Regions from separate parts of the Homo sapiens genome. Here all the other regions are linked to region 2. Evidence: promoter capture Hi-C in human tissues and cell types (Jung and others, 2019). All regions are on one chromosome and are shown on one strand. The core of a region is centred on a gene start or on the middle of the fragment in contact, and the rest is flanking DNA. Distances in the headings are between cores, read along the strand shown.

Region 1 (3,145 bases), core at 356-2,855, 300 kb before region 2:
TTATGTTTACAGCTGAAAGATTTCATCTAGACATGTCTTTCGTCCTTATTATTCAAAGTGTAATTGAAAGAGATATTTAGTATTAAGACATGTTCCCCAATTGAGAATTTTCCAGAATATTCTACTTAAGAAGAAGAAGAGCAATTAACTGCCTTTAGTGTAAGGGCGAGAGTGCATAGAAATATGCAATGTAAAATGTTTGCATGAATTATTTCACATCATGTAAGCTTTCCCATATTCATAAGATGAACACTATAGAAGTCTCATTTCTCTGTGATCTTCTGTCCATTAGGAAAGTAAGGAGATTGTTATCTATATCTAGTCTCCTTTCCATATTGAACTGCATGGCTCTAATCCTCAGTGTATTTTTATCCCTTCTCGAGTTATTTAAAATTTGCCCTATTTAAGCTGAAGCCTGGATAAACTGCTGAGCCAGATTATTCCTGTGATTGGAGTTTAATTGCTGTAGAACACTTGTTGAGAACACATTTTTTACTTTTTTTCTTTCAGAATTATTCCTCAATCATTGTTCTCTAATGAAAACACCGAGAAGTAAATCTGGTGCTTCTTAGTGTAAATATGTTTTTCTTTTTAAAAAGTCATTTTAAAACAAAGATGAGAGAACTATAAAGTAAGGGGAAATATCATTTTATTTAAAAATAATTATTCAATGATAGATAATGGAGATACAGAATGACTCATTGGGTTCATAGGTATGATTTGTGCAGCCAGTCTTAGAGGAAATACATCATTTTAACATTATTCCCACAAAATGTTAAAGCTCAATGGTTTGACTATGAGAGTCAAACAATTACTATTTGAAAATCTCTTATGACATTTTTATAATCTACTCTGTTTTTATTTGCATGATTATGCTTATGTGATGAACCATCCATGATTCTGATATTGTATTTCTTTCCAGTATTAACATGTGTATTGTGTGGCCAACTCTGATTTGTACACCGTATTATTGTTGTAATGATTCAACTGTTCCTACATTTAATTGCAGTTTAATTATTATGCCTTTTGGGGTTAAATGATGTGAAGTGTTTCCACCTACTGATAAATACCATATGAAAACACGACTAAAAGACTGATTTAAGAAACTTGTTATTTTTAAAAATATGAATTTCAAAAGAAATGTTCTCAAAGACACATGCATTTATTTTAAATTCAAAAAATTCTTATGAATTTATTATTGCTTGTACTTTAACTTTTTTTATTGTAGACAATCCTAAGTGAATAATGTCTCATGGGAGAACACATGATATGTGCTTGTATTTGTGTAATCTGATCATGCACTCAATGGTTGGAAAAGGCACTCCAGTGCTAAGAAAATAACCAGAAGCCAATATATCGATTCTTATATCTCGGTTTATGTTACCAACTGAATATGGTGTAATGCATAACTTTTTCCAGTAAATAAACTGGTTATTTTTTGTTCATTTCATTAATGCTGCCTTTTTATCAATTTGAGCAGTTTTTCTGTATGTCATTTTGATGTATACTTACAAAAAGGAAAAGACTATATGAATTCAGATGTGATCTATATGTTTATTCAAAGTAAGAACTTATTTGAACTAAAAACTAAATGCTTTGCTTTAACAACAATTCTATACATTCCTGGTAAGTAATGTGTATCAACTCTGCTCATTTCCTCCAGTTATCACCTCTTCTACTTGTAATCTTTTCTAGAAAGCTATTTTGGCAGGAGGATATACTTGGCTGAATTTGATTAGAAATGTACCAACATGAAGAAAATGCTTGCCCTAAAACAGGAAACATTATTTTGATGAAAGAAGAATGAAGTTTCTATGCATTATTTTGGGAGACAATTCCTCTTTGTTCTTTTTGGAACAGCAGAGTTCCAAAACTTTGAGGGAGGTTAATTTTCTAGCTCCTCCTACAAATACATATTGTAGTAAATCAGCTGCTTTGGGAACCATCCACTTTGATTCGATTTTATTTAAAGGGTGGAGGAGGGGGAGAGGCAGATAGAACATGGTGTTCTAGTGAGTTAAAACGTCTAATGCAATCCTCATTATAGCTAATCAAATTCGTGCAACACGGGCAGCCAACATCCTGGCAAAAGCTGTCTGCTCACCTGTTGCATAAATACAACACTAGAAATAATAATGTAAACTTTTCTACAAATTTCTCCTTTTTCTCTTCCAAAAGCTTTTGTTTTTCTTGGAGGTTGGATCTATAAGTCTATTTGATACTTGACTTTCTCTTACATGATAAAGCTGATAGTCTGCCACATTCAAAAGTGAAAACAGCTGGACGCATCAAGAAAGTCTCTTCTCATCTATACATTTTGCAGGCAACTTGGACAGCCTATATTGCAACCCACAAGGGATGAGAAAGAGAGCAGAATCGATGGGAACTTGTGGAAGGGATTTCCGTCTTCTTCTTCTTCTTCTTCTTCTTCTTCTTCTTCTTCTTCTTCTTCTTCTTTTCTTCTTCTTTCTTCTTCTCCTTCTCCTTCTCTTCTCCTCTTCTTCCTCTTCCTCTTCTTCCTTCTTCCTTCTTTCTTCTTCTTCTTCTTTTTTAAAGAGGGAGTCTTGCTCTGTCTCCCAGGCTGGAGTGCAGTGGCATGATCTTGGCTCACTGCAACCTCCGACTTCCTGGTTCAAGCTATTTTCGTGCCTCAGCCTCCTGAGTAGCTGGGATTACAGGCACGTACCACCATGCCCAGCTAATTTTTGTATTTTTAGTAGAGACGGGGTTTCACCATGTTGGACAGGATGGTCTTCATCTCCTGACCTCATGATCCACCCGCCTCGGCCTCCCAAAGTGCTGGGATTACAGGCGTGAGCCACCGCACCCAGCCGGATTTTTTTTTTCTTTTGAAACATGGCCTCACTCTGCCACCCAGGCAGGAGTGCAGTGGGATGATCTTGGCTCACTGCAGCCTCGACCCCCTGGGCTCAAATGATTCTGCCACCTCGGCCTCCCAAGTAGTTGGGATCACAGGCATATACCACCATGCCTGGCTAATTGTTTAATTTTTTTGTACAGATGAGGTCCCACTATGTTGCCTAGGCTGGTCTTGAGCTCCTAGACTCAAGTAATTCTCTCATCTCAGACACTGAAAGTGTTGTGATTACAGACATGAGCCACCTCGCCCAGCCAGGAAAGGATT
Region 2 (3,073 bases), core at 23-2,522:
GGCGACAGAGTCAGACTCTGTCTCAAAAAAAAAAAAGAACGGTATGAGCAAAGAGTGAGTAAGGCAGTTATCAGATGTCTACTTTGCCAGGAATCAGGCTACAGCAAATAAAGGTTTATACATAATATTGATAATAAATGCCCAGCTCTTCCCCTGTAAAACTCCAATACTCTAAGATTTTTTTCATGAACACCGCCCCCCGCTGCTCCGACCCCTGCTTTTTTATTTATTTATTTATTTATTTGGTAGAGATGAGGTCTCACTATGTTGACCAGGCTGGTCTCGAACTCCCAGCTCAAGCGATCCTCCTGCTTCTGCTTCCTAAAGTGCTGGGATTACACCGCGCTCGGTCCTGAACACACATTTTGTTTGTTTGTTTGTTTGTTTACAAAACCCCTGGAGAACCCGCGTATTCTAACCTGGGCTGGTTTTTGTATTTTTGCAAAATAACACCCCACACATTCTCGTATCAGCGTGCAGATTTTTTTGCACCCAGTTTGGTTGTTTGCGGCCATAAGCTTTTCTTTAAGCCTTTCCAACCCGTCCTTCTAGAGAAAGTGTCTTCATAAGGAAGTCACACTGCTCACGCCTGTAATCCCAACACTTTGGGAGGCCGAGGCGGGTGGATCACTAGGTCCGGAGATCGAGACCATCCTGGAAAACACAGTGAAACCCCGTCTCTACTAAAAATACAAAAAATTAGCCGGGCGTAGTGGTGGGTGCCTGTAGTCCCAGCTACTCCGAAGGCTGAGGCAGGAGAATGGCGTGAACCCGGGAGGCGGAATTTGCAGTGGGCCGAGATCGCGCCACTGCACTCCAGCCTGGGCGACAGAGTGAGACTCCGTCTCAAAAAAAAAAAAAAAATAAATAAATAAAAAATAAATAAAAGGAAGTGACACTGGATAATTAAGAGACACACCATTGCGCCTTTAACACATATTCACACCCAGCACTGTCACATCCATCGTGCCTTGAGGACAGGCATAAATTTACGGCCTTCCTCCTGCGCTCCCGGCCTGCTCCTAGCCTTTGACTAGAGCCTGCGCAGCATCCCAGTCCCAGGCTAGGGCCCACCGGTGCCGCGCAGCCTCCTGGAAGCTGTGGGGAGTAGCGTTCCTCCGCTCCAGAACTACAACTCCCAGCAGGCCTTGCTCCTCTCCACCTCCCTCGCAGCGCATGGCCTGCCGGGAGGGGGCAGGTAGCCGGCGGGCCCGGTCCAATGGGTGCCGGCTTCCGAGGAGAGGGCGGAGGAGAGGAGGAAGGAGGCGAACTGTGGGCCCCGGCCCCATTCATTGCCGTGGCCGGCGGGCACTGGGGCCCCGTGTTTTCAGAGTCATGGAGGCGCTAATTCCTGTCATAAACAAGCTCCAGGACGTCTTCAACACGGTGGGCGCCGACATCATCCAGCTGCCTCAAATCGTCGTAGTGGGAACGCAGGTGAGAGCAGCAGGCGGCGTTCGCTCGGGCCAGACCCCGGCCGCAGGCCTGGTCGGTGCTGCGGCAGTGCCCACTCCCGCGCCAGCGCCCACTCCCGCGCCAGCCTTTGGGGCCTGTGGGAGGAGGGCCTTGCTGGGGGCCCCAGGGCTCTCCGGGCTCTGCCGCACCCGCCCTCCCGGGGCAGCGTTGCATCAAGGCGGAGAATCCGGGGCCCGGCCAGGGGCGGAGCCGGCGCGGCGGGCCTGGCTAGCCCGGCGGGTCCCGGGGACAGGAGAGGGAAGGATGGGGCCGGCGGGCGGAACTGGAGTCCGCTGGGACCGGGCGCGGCCTCGTCCGCGTGCCGCTGCCTCCAAGGGCACCTGGGGGACGCGCGGGGCACTCGGGTCTCGCTGGGCTCGGTGGGCTGGCTGTTCCCATCACTGTTGGCTTTCGTGAGACGGGTGTTTTATTTCCCTCCTTGCCTTGCCCAGGGACTGCGGAGTTAGTTTTGGAATCGCTCTGTTGAGGCTGAGAGACGCTACGGTGCGTGAGCGCCAGTGTTTTCCTGCAGTATAATTCCACCAGGTTTCGAGAACGCCGAAGCAGCATTTTAAAAAAAGAAAAACAAAACGTGTATCTAGAGTTCTGCGGGTGTTGGGAAGGAATATCCGATTTTTCTGCGTAGGCTGTGCTTTTTGTCTTCCACAGTTTTGTGATCGTGACCTAAATTGGGCATCAGTTTCTCTGGTCTTCTCATAGCTAACTCATTTTTTTTTGAATGCAGAAATGTTGGCAAAATAACTGTTATTTCTAGAGTGACAGAGGAGAAGTATAATTTTCCTTTTCTCTGCTACTTCGATTAGAGTTCAGAGAAACGGATTTTAGAAATTAGTATATTGATATTAAGTGCTTTCATTTCTTAATAGTATCTTTTCTATTGAGAAGGAGCGGTTTCCCCATCATTTTCCAGGAGGTACATAGTATAGGGTATAAGTGCTATCAGAAGGAACTTACTGTTCAAAGTATTAGTGGCTATCCAAACACTGGAAACTATAGACACCCTGTACTCGTTTGTTTGTTTGTTTGTTTTTTTGGCTTTTAAATAGTTGAAGCAATAGAAATTGTTTTAGAAACACATTTCCTTGGTCTGCGATAGGATTGGGAAAGATTCTGCTCAATCTTGCCTACGTATTCTAGTATTTGTAACAATATTTGTAATGTTTGGAGACTCAGAAGCATCAAACAAATTACGAGGATTATTTTTTATTGAACATAATTTTGTTCAGTCTGGGACATATAGTAAGTGCTCTGTAAATATTTTGAGTAAATATTGCTCACTCTAACCACAATGTTTTAAAACACTGGGACTTTTATCATCAAAACTAACCTGTTTTTGTAAAAAGTTAGAGATAATATAAATTAAGTCTTTGATAGTAAGTGATTCAGAAGTGTCTTCTAGCTGCACACTAGAAACTTTCCACATACTTTTAAAAGAGAGTCTCAGTGCTTTTTAAGCATGAGGAAGTAAAAGAATTAGGGATATAGTGTGTCAGCATAAATAGTTTAAAATCAATAAGTTGTTTTTTTCTTTTTACACAAAATAGAGTTTATTTTGGTCAGTAAACCTGTTGGCAAAATACAGAGTGGCAGGAGAGAA
Region 3 (3,250 bases), core at 469-2,968, 480 kb before region 2:
AAAATTAGGGGGGAAATTATTTTTTCTTCCTGGGGATAGGTTTCATTTTTAATTGGGAAATGTAATGTGAAATGTATTACTTTCAAACTTGAGGACCCAGAATATAACTTATGATGATTTAAGTTTTCTTCCTTTTATTTACATTTTAATGATAAAGACACTCATTGGCCAAGACCCAGAAAAAAAGTTTAAATAAAAATTTACATTTTAATGATAAAGACACTCATTGGCCAAGACCCAGAAAAAATAGTTTACCTATATTTTATACGTGTTTGTTTAAAAAAAAAAAACACAATCTTTGAAAAATCTGGAGAATTTATTTCGGGTTATAATAGTCAGAAAATGTGTGCCTTTAAGTTTTGCTTCTGAATAGACATATTCTGCTAAGCAAGCAATCTCCTCTTAGACTGCTTGCTGAGCACATATACTTTCCGTATGCTGATTTTTAAAGTGTCTGTATTTGGTTGGTGGCTTTAGTAATAAGAGACTAGCTTTTAACACAGCCAGAAGAAGCTGATGTGAACCAGCAGAAATAACACTGATCATATATAATACTTATGGAACAGTGGTTGCCCACCATTTTTGAACCCAAGATTTCCTGACATTTATCACTGTGCCAACAAAAAGAAAAACTAGGAACCTGGGGAGGACTTAGAGAGAGGAAGCATGGACAGCTGCCAGCCTGGGCAGATGGCGTCTGTTTGGTTGAGACAGATTCACCAGGAAACAAGATCAGATCCTAGTTTGAGACCCAAAACCTGGTGAGTAAGAACAAGTGTTCAGGACTTCAAGGGGCCCAGTAGGCAATTGTGGGAAAAAATCTGGAGGTCCTGAACTTGCCCAAATTACAGGGGTAGGTGAGAAAAGGTAATCCAAGGGGTAATATTTTTTTCTGCTTTTTGGTGTTATCTATATTTTCTTTAACAATTATATATATTACTTAAAGGAAAAAACTCTAGGTCTTATATATTCCTGACTAAGCTTCATCAATATGTATTTGCTTCTTTTATACAAAGTAACATTGTTTTCATTTACAGATTGCCATTAGGATACCTTAGTAATGATGTCCAGTTATGATGCAGATATTTCAAAGTTTATTGTTTATTTATTTATTATTATTTTGGAGGCAGGGTCTTACTGTGTTGCCCAGGCTTGGGTACAGTGGTGTGATCTTGGCTCACTGCAGCCTCGACCTTCCAGGCTCAAGCAGTCCTCCCATCTCAGCCTCCCAAGTAGCTGGAACTACAGGTGTGCACCACCATGCCTGTCTAATTTTTATATTTTTTGTAGAGATGGGGTCTCGCCATGTTGCCCAGGCTGGTCTTGAACACCTGGGCTCAAGAGATCTGCCCGCCTCAGCCTCCCCAAATGCTGGGATTATAGGCGTGAGCCACCGCACCAGGCCCAAAGTTAAAATAACTTAATGAATAAGGTTTGGATGATGTCAGGTACCCCTTTTTTCTCAGGGGAACTGGCTCCTACTTAGATATCTTATGACCATTAGTGGGACATTATAGGATAGCCTAGAAACAGAAACACTCACGTCAGTGTGATTTATGGCTAAGCTGGCACTCGACATCAGTGGGATAGGAGGGGGTAATACATTAAATGGTGCATGGGAAATTGATTATTCGTTCAGAAAATAATTGAAATGGATCTGTACTTCATTTCATACACAAAAATCAATTTCAGGGAGATTAAGGGACTTAAGTTATAAAAGGCAAAACTTTGAAACTTTTGGAAATAGTATAGGAGAATAGCTTTATGACCTTGGAGGAGGGAAGGATTTACAAATAGTGTTAGCTATAAGGCAAAGGTTTGGTCATTGAGCCATCTTAAAATCAAGGAAATTACTTCATCAAAAGACATCGCTAAAAGAGTGGGAGAGAAAAACCACACACTGGGAGAAAATATGTGCCATACATATGTGTGGCAGGCACACCTGACAGCAACAACCGAAGCATACCCTGAGAATGACCCTATGGTCTAAGAAGAATGTGTGTTTGGAGTTCTCAGCTGAGGAACCTGGTAGTGGCCAACCCGGAGACTGATTCCTTGTCTATGAGGAACATCTGAACCCCCGGCCCATTTCGGATTAAAGGAGGGTTGCCAGGTGAAGGTTGCAGGAGGGGAGCTAAGTAAAAATGCTATATAAACTGCATACTTTTTAGAAACGGTAGTGGTTCGTCCATCCAGCCTGCTACCACTGGACCGCTGCATATGTAAGTCCCCTCGAGAAGCCCTATATCTCATTTGCCAGCTCTCGGTCTCTTCTTTGGCCTCTCTTCTTTGGCCTCTCGAACCTGTGCTATCCCTATCCAACTCAATAGGGGTCTGGCACAATAACATGTAACTAACAATTAGGAAACAGAAACCTGTCTTTTAGAATGTGGGACTTCTCTTCATCAAAAGCACTGTAAAATGAGTTAAGAAACAACCCATAAATACTTGAGGAAGATACTTGCCATACATGTAACTGACAAATTAATAAAGGAAAAAGGTACTCTGGAGAAAAATGAACAAAAGCCTTGAATAGAAACTACACAGAAGTGGAAATGTGAGGTTGGGCGTGGTGGCTCACACCTGTAATCCCAACATTTTGGGAGGCCTAGACAGGTGGATTGCTTGAGCCCAGGAGTTTGAGGCCAGCCTGGGCAACATGGTGAAACCCCATCTCTACAAAAAAATGCATAAATTAACTGGGTGTGGTGGCAGACATCTGTGGTCCCAGCTACTTGGGAGGCTGAGGTGGGAAGATTGCCTGAGCCTGGGAGGTGGAGGTTGCAATGAGCTGTGATCATGCCATTGCACTCTAACCTGGGCAACAGAGGAGACCCTGTCAAAAAAAAAAAAAAATGAAAATGTGAATGGTCAATAAAAATGTGAAACTACTTAACTTCATTAGTAATCAGGGAAATGCAAATGAGAAGCACCAGGTGATACTGTTTCACACTCTCCGGGGCGGCCAAAATTTTTAAGTCTTAACAAACAACCCTAACAATGTAGAGTCACAAACAGGAATCCTTAGACACTGCTGGTGGCAGTTGAATTAGTACAGCCACTTTGGAGAACTCTGCAGCCTTGTCAGGAAGAGTTGAAGCTGTGTGTAATCCACAACACTGCCCACACTCCACAGCAATGCTTCTCAAGCCTGGCATAATATATTAGCATCCCAAAATGAGCATGTTGGAAATACTTACACCTGGCCCTTACCCCAGACCTGTGATTCTCAAATGGTATGCCAAGATGC
Region 4 (3,125 bases), core at 158-2,657, 330 kb before region 2:
GTGAAGGGCAGTCTGTTGAAACCTGTAATCTCTTAGGCTTGTATTTTCTTTGAACATAGTTTCCACAGAATTCTTCCCTGTAGGGGAAGGCCTGGGCACTTCTTGATGTCAGAACATGTTGTCTTTAGTTTGGAATCTGCCAAAACAAAAGTTAAATCAAAAATGTTAATTCCTGTCACCCCAGCACTTCGGGAGGCCAAAGCAGGAGGATTGCTTGAGCCCAGGAGTCCGAGACTGGCCTGGGTAACATAGCGAGACCTCGTCTCTACATTAAAATTTAAAAATTAGCTGGATGTGCTGGCATGCACTCATAGTCCCAGCTGCTCAGGAGGCTAAGGCGGGAGGATTGCTTGAGTCTGGGAGGTCGAGGCTGCAGTGAGCCACTGCACTCCAGCGAGTGATGGAGTGAGACCCTGTCTCAGAAAAAAAAAAAAAAAGAAGAAAAAATATATTAATTCACAAAATTGTCAACCACATGTTGAGAAATACATTTTTATACTTGCTGTATATTTTTCAATAGGTAATGGTTCAAAAATTTTAAAGTACAAAGGGTATACAGTAGATGGTAGATTTCTGCCACAACTGTGCCCACCCAACCTTTTGTATTTTTCCAGAAACATTCTATACATATATAAGGAAATGCATATAAATATATACATATATAAAAACATATGCATTTTACATATGTGTTAATACCATTGGCACAACCACAGACATTATGCATGCCGGTTTTTTTCACTTGATGTATCTGGGTTCTTCTTTCCTATACATTTATCTTTTTGTTTCTTTTGAGTCAGAAGAAGTTATGAAGGGGAAGGAAGACATGCTTGAGCTCTTTAAGAAAGCTTGGAATGTTTCTATGTGTGCAATAGAAATATTTCTTGCCAAATGATAAAATGACAGCTACAAGAATGTTTCTATTCAGAACTATTCAATAGAAATATGATATAAACCATATATGTAAATTTAAATTCTCTAGTAGTCTAGTAGTCATGTTAGAAAAAGTAAAAAGAAGTCAGGCACCATGGCTCACGCCTATAATCCCAGCACTTTGGGAGGCCAAAATGAAGGATCACTTGAGCCCAGGAGTTCAAGACCAGCCTGGGCAACATGGCGAAACCATGTCTCTACAAAAAATAAAAAGATTATTCGGGCATAGTGGCATGCGCCTGTACTCTCAGCTACTCAGGAGGCTGAGATGGGAGGATTGCTTGAGCCCAGGAGATTGAGGCTGCAGTGAGCCATGATCGTGCAACTGCACTCCAGGCTGGGTGACAGAGCAAGACCCTGTTTCAAAAAATAAATAAAAAGAAACAAGTGAACTTAATTTTAGTAGTAGATTTTAATTGACACACTATATCCATAATGTGATCATTTCAACATGGAATTCATAGGTGGCTAACACCTATAATTCCACTTTGGGAGGCCGAGGTGGGTGGATCCCTTGAGGCCAAGAGTTCGAGACCAGCCTGGGCATCATGGTGAAACCCTGTCTCTACAAAAACTACAAAAATTAGCCAGGCATGGTGGTGCATGCCTGTAGTTCCACCTACTCAGGAGGCCAAGGTGTGGGGATCGCTTGAGCCCAGGAAGCAGAGGTTGCAGTGAGCCAGGATTGTGCTAGTTCTTTCCAGCCTGGGTGACAGAGTGAGACCCTGTCAAAAAAAATATATATATACGTGTATATATATATATATATATATATATATATATATATATATATATATACGTGTATATATATATATATATATATATATACGTGTATATATATATATATATACGTGTATATATATATATATATATACACACACACACGCACACACACACATACACATACATACACATTCTGTTTTTCTTATTCAGTCTTTGAAATTCAGTATTATGCACTTACAGCATATCTTGATTTGAACTAGCCACATTTCAAATGCTCAACAGCCTAATTTCGCTAAGGGCTACTGTGTTGGACGGTGCAGTTCTAGAACTTCTTAGTTTTAACTAGATAGAATTTCCACACAGAAATCTAAATTTGAATAACTAATGACTGATTTTAAAATAAAATTTAAGATGGCATGTATTTCGGTTTTATTTCTTTTCTTTTCTTTTTTTTTTTTTTTAAGACAGAATCTTGCTCTTGTTGCCCAGGCTGGAGTGCAATGGCACAATATTGCCTCACCGCAACCTCCGCCTCCCAGGTTCAAGCGATTCTCCTGCCTCAGCCTCCCAACTAGCTAGGATTACAGGTATGTGCCACCATGCCTGGCTAATTTTGTATTTTTAGTAGAGACAGGGTTTCTCCATGTTGGTCAGGCTGGTCTTGAATTCCTGACCTCAGTTGATCCTCCTGCCTCAGCCTTCCAAAGTGCTGGGATTACAGGCATGAGCCACTGCGCCCTGCCCTCATTTTTCTTTTAAACTGACATAGACCAAAGTGCTATTTTGCTGATTCTGCTTTGTCTCTGATTGGTGGCAGTGCTTTTTAAAATAGATACATATTAAATGTTTGAGCCAGGCGTGGTGGCTCATGCCTGTAATCCCAGCACTTTGGGAGGCTGAGGCGGGCAGATCACAAGGTCAAGAGATCGAGACCATCCTGGCCAACATGGTGAAACCCCGTCTCTACTAAAAATACAAAAATTAGCTGGGCATGGTGGTGCGTGCCTGTAATCCCAGCTACTTGGGAGGCTGAGGCAGGAGAATCGCTTGAACCCAGGAGGTGGAGGTTGCAGTGAGCTGAGATCACGCCATTGCACTCCAGCCTGGGCAACAAGAACGAAACGCCATCTCAATTAAAAAAAAAGAAAAAGTTTGTACCTATATACCCTTTTCATACATCTCTTATTTGTTACTAGATCTCCTTGTCAATATAAAAACTTAATTACTTAGGTATATCCTAACAAAACATATTCCTTAAACATTCTTAAAACAGTATAATGACTTAGTTTTTTAATTACCGTAATGAAGTTGTAAAAGCCCATGTTTCTTATTTTAAGCAGAGAGTGCCTTAAAAAGGTTTAAAATGCATCCTGCCAGTTTTAAATAGCAGAATTTATTGATACCATATATATAGACTGAAAACACATCAAAGTCTTTCAAGGTTGATTATTTCTTGTGCCTTCCTTCTTCCC

What was found. The method cuts DNA at HindIII sites, captures the fragments that hold promoters and counts their contacts. A contact is called where the count stands out against the background at its distance.
Region 1: a contact is called between a fragment that was not itself captured here and the fragment with the promoter of DNM1L in region 2, in 5 of the 25 tissues and cell types used here (H1 embryonic stem cells, IMR-90 fibroblasts, dorsolateral prefrontal cortex and 2 more).
Region 3: a fragment that was not itself captured here is called in contact with the fragment with the promoter of DNM1L in region 2 in 1 of the 25 tissues and cell types used here (hippocampus).
Region 4: a fragment that was not itself captured here is called in contact with the fragment with the promoter of DNM1L in region 2 in 1 of the 25 tissues and cell types used here (spleen).

The regions. Positions count from the first base shown.
Region 1 is chr12:32,382,184-32,385,328 of GRCh38, forward strand. BICD1 (BICD cargo adaptor 1) reads left to right here. Exons shown (of 10, transcript NM_001714.4): 10 at 1-1,450. Among named protein-coding and RNA genes, the nearest start is that of FGD4, 16 kb to the right of the region's middle. The HindIII fragment of the contact is 5,533 bases long and covers 1-3,145 here.
Region 2 is chr12:32,678,029-32,681,101 of GRCh38, forward strand. DNM1L (dynamin 1 like) reads left to right here and starts at 1,273. Exons shown (of 20, transcript NM_012062.5): 1 at 1,273-1,437. The coding sequence starts at 1,336. RefSeq lists a silencer at 1,421-1,830. The HindIII fragment of the contact is 15,512 bases long and covers 1-3,073 here.
Region 3 is chr12:32,201,506-32,204,755 of GRCh38, forward strand. The region is part of intron 1 of BICD1 (BICD cargo adaptor 1); the gene reads left to right. Among named protein-coding and RNA genes, the nearest start is that of BICD1-AS1, 96 kb to the left of the region's middle. The HindIII fragment of the contact is 5,748 bases long and covers 1-3,250 here.
Region 4 is chr12:32,344,855-32,347,979 of GRCh38, forward strand. The region is part of intron 8 of BICD1 (BICD cargo adaptor 1); the gene reads left to right. Among named protein-coding and RNA genes, the nearest start is that of FGD4, 53 kb to the right of the region's middle. The HindIII fragment of the contact is 6,116 bases long and covers 1-3,125 here.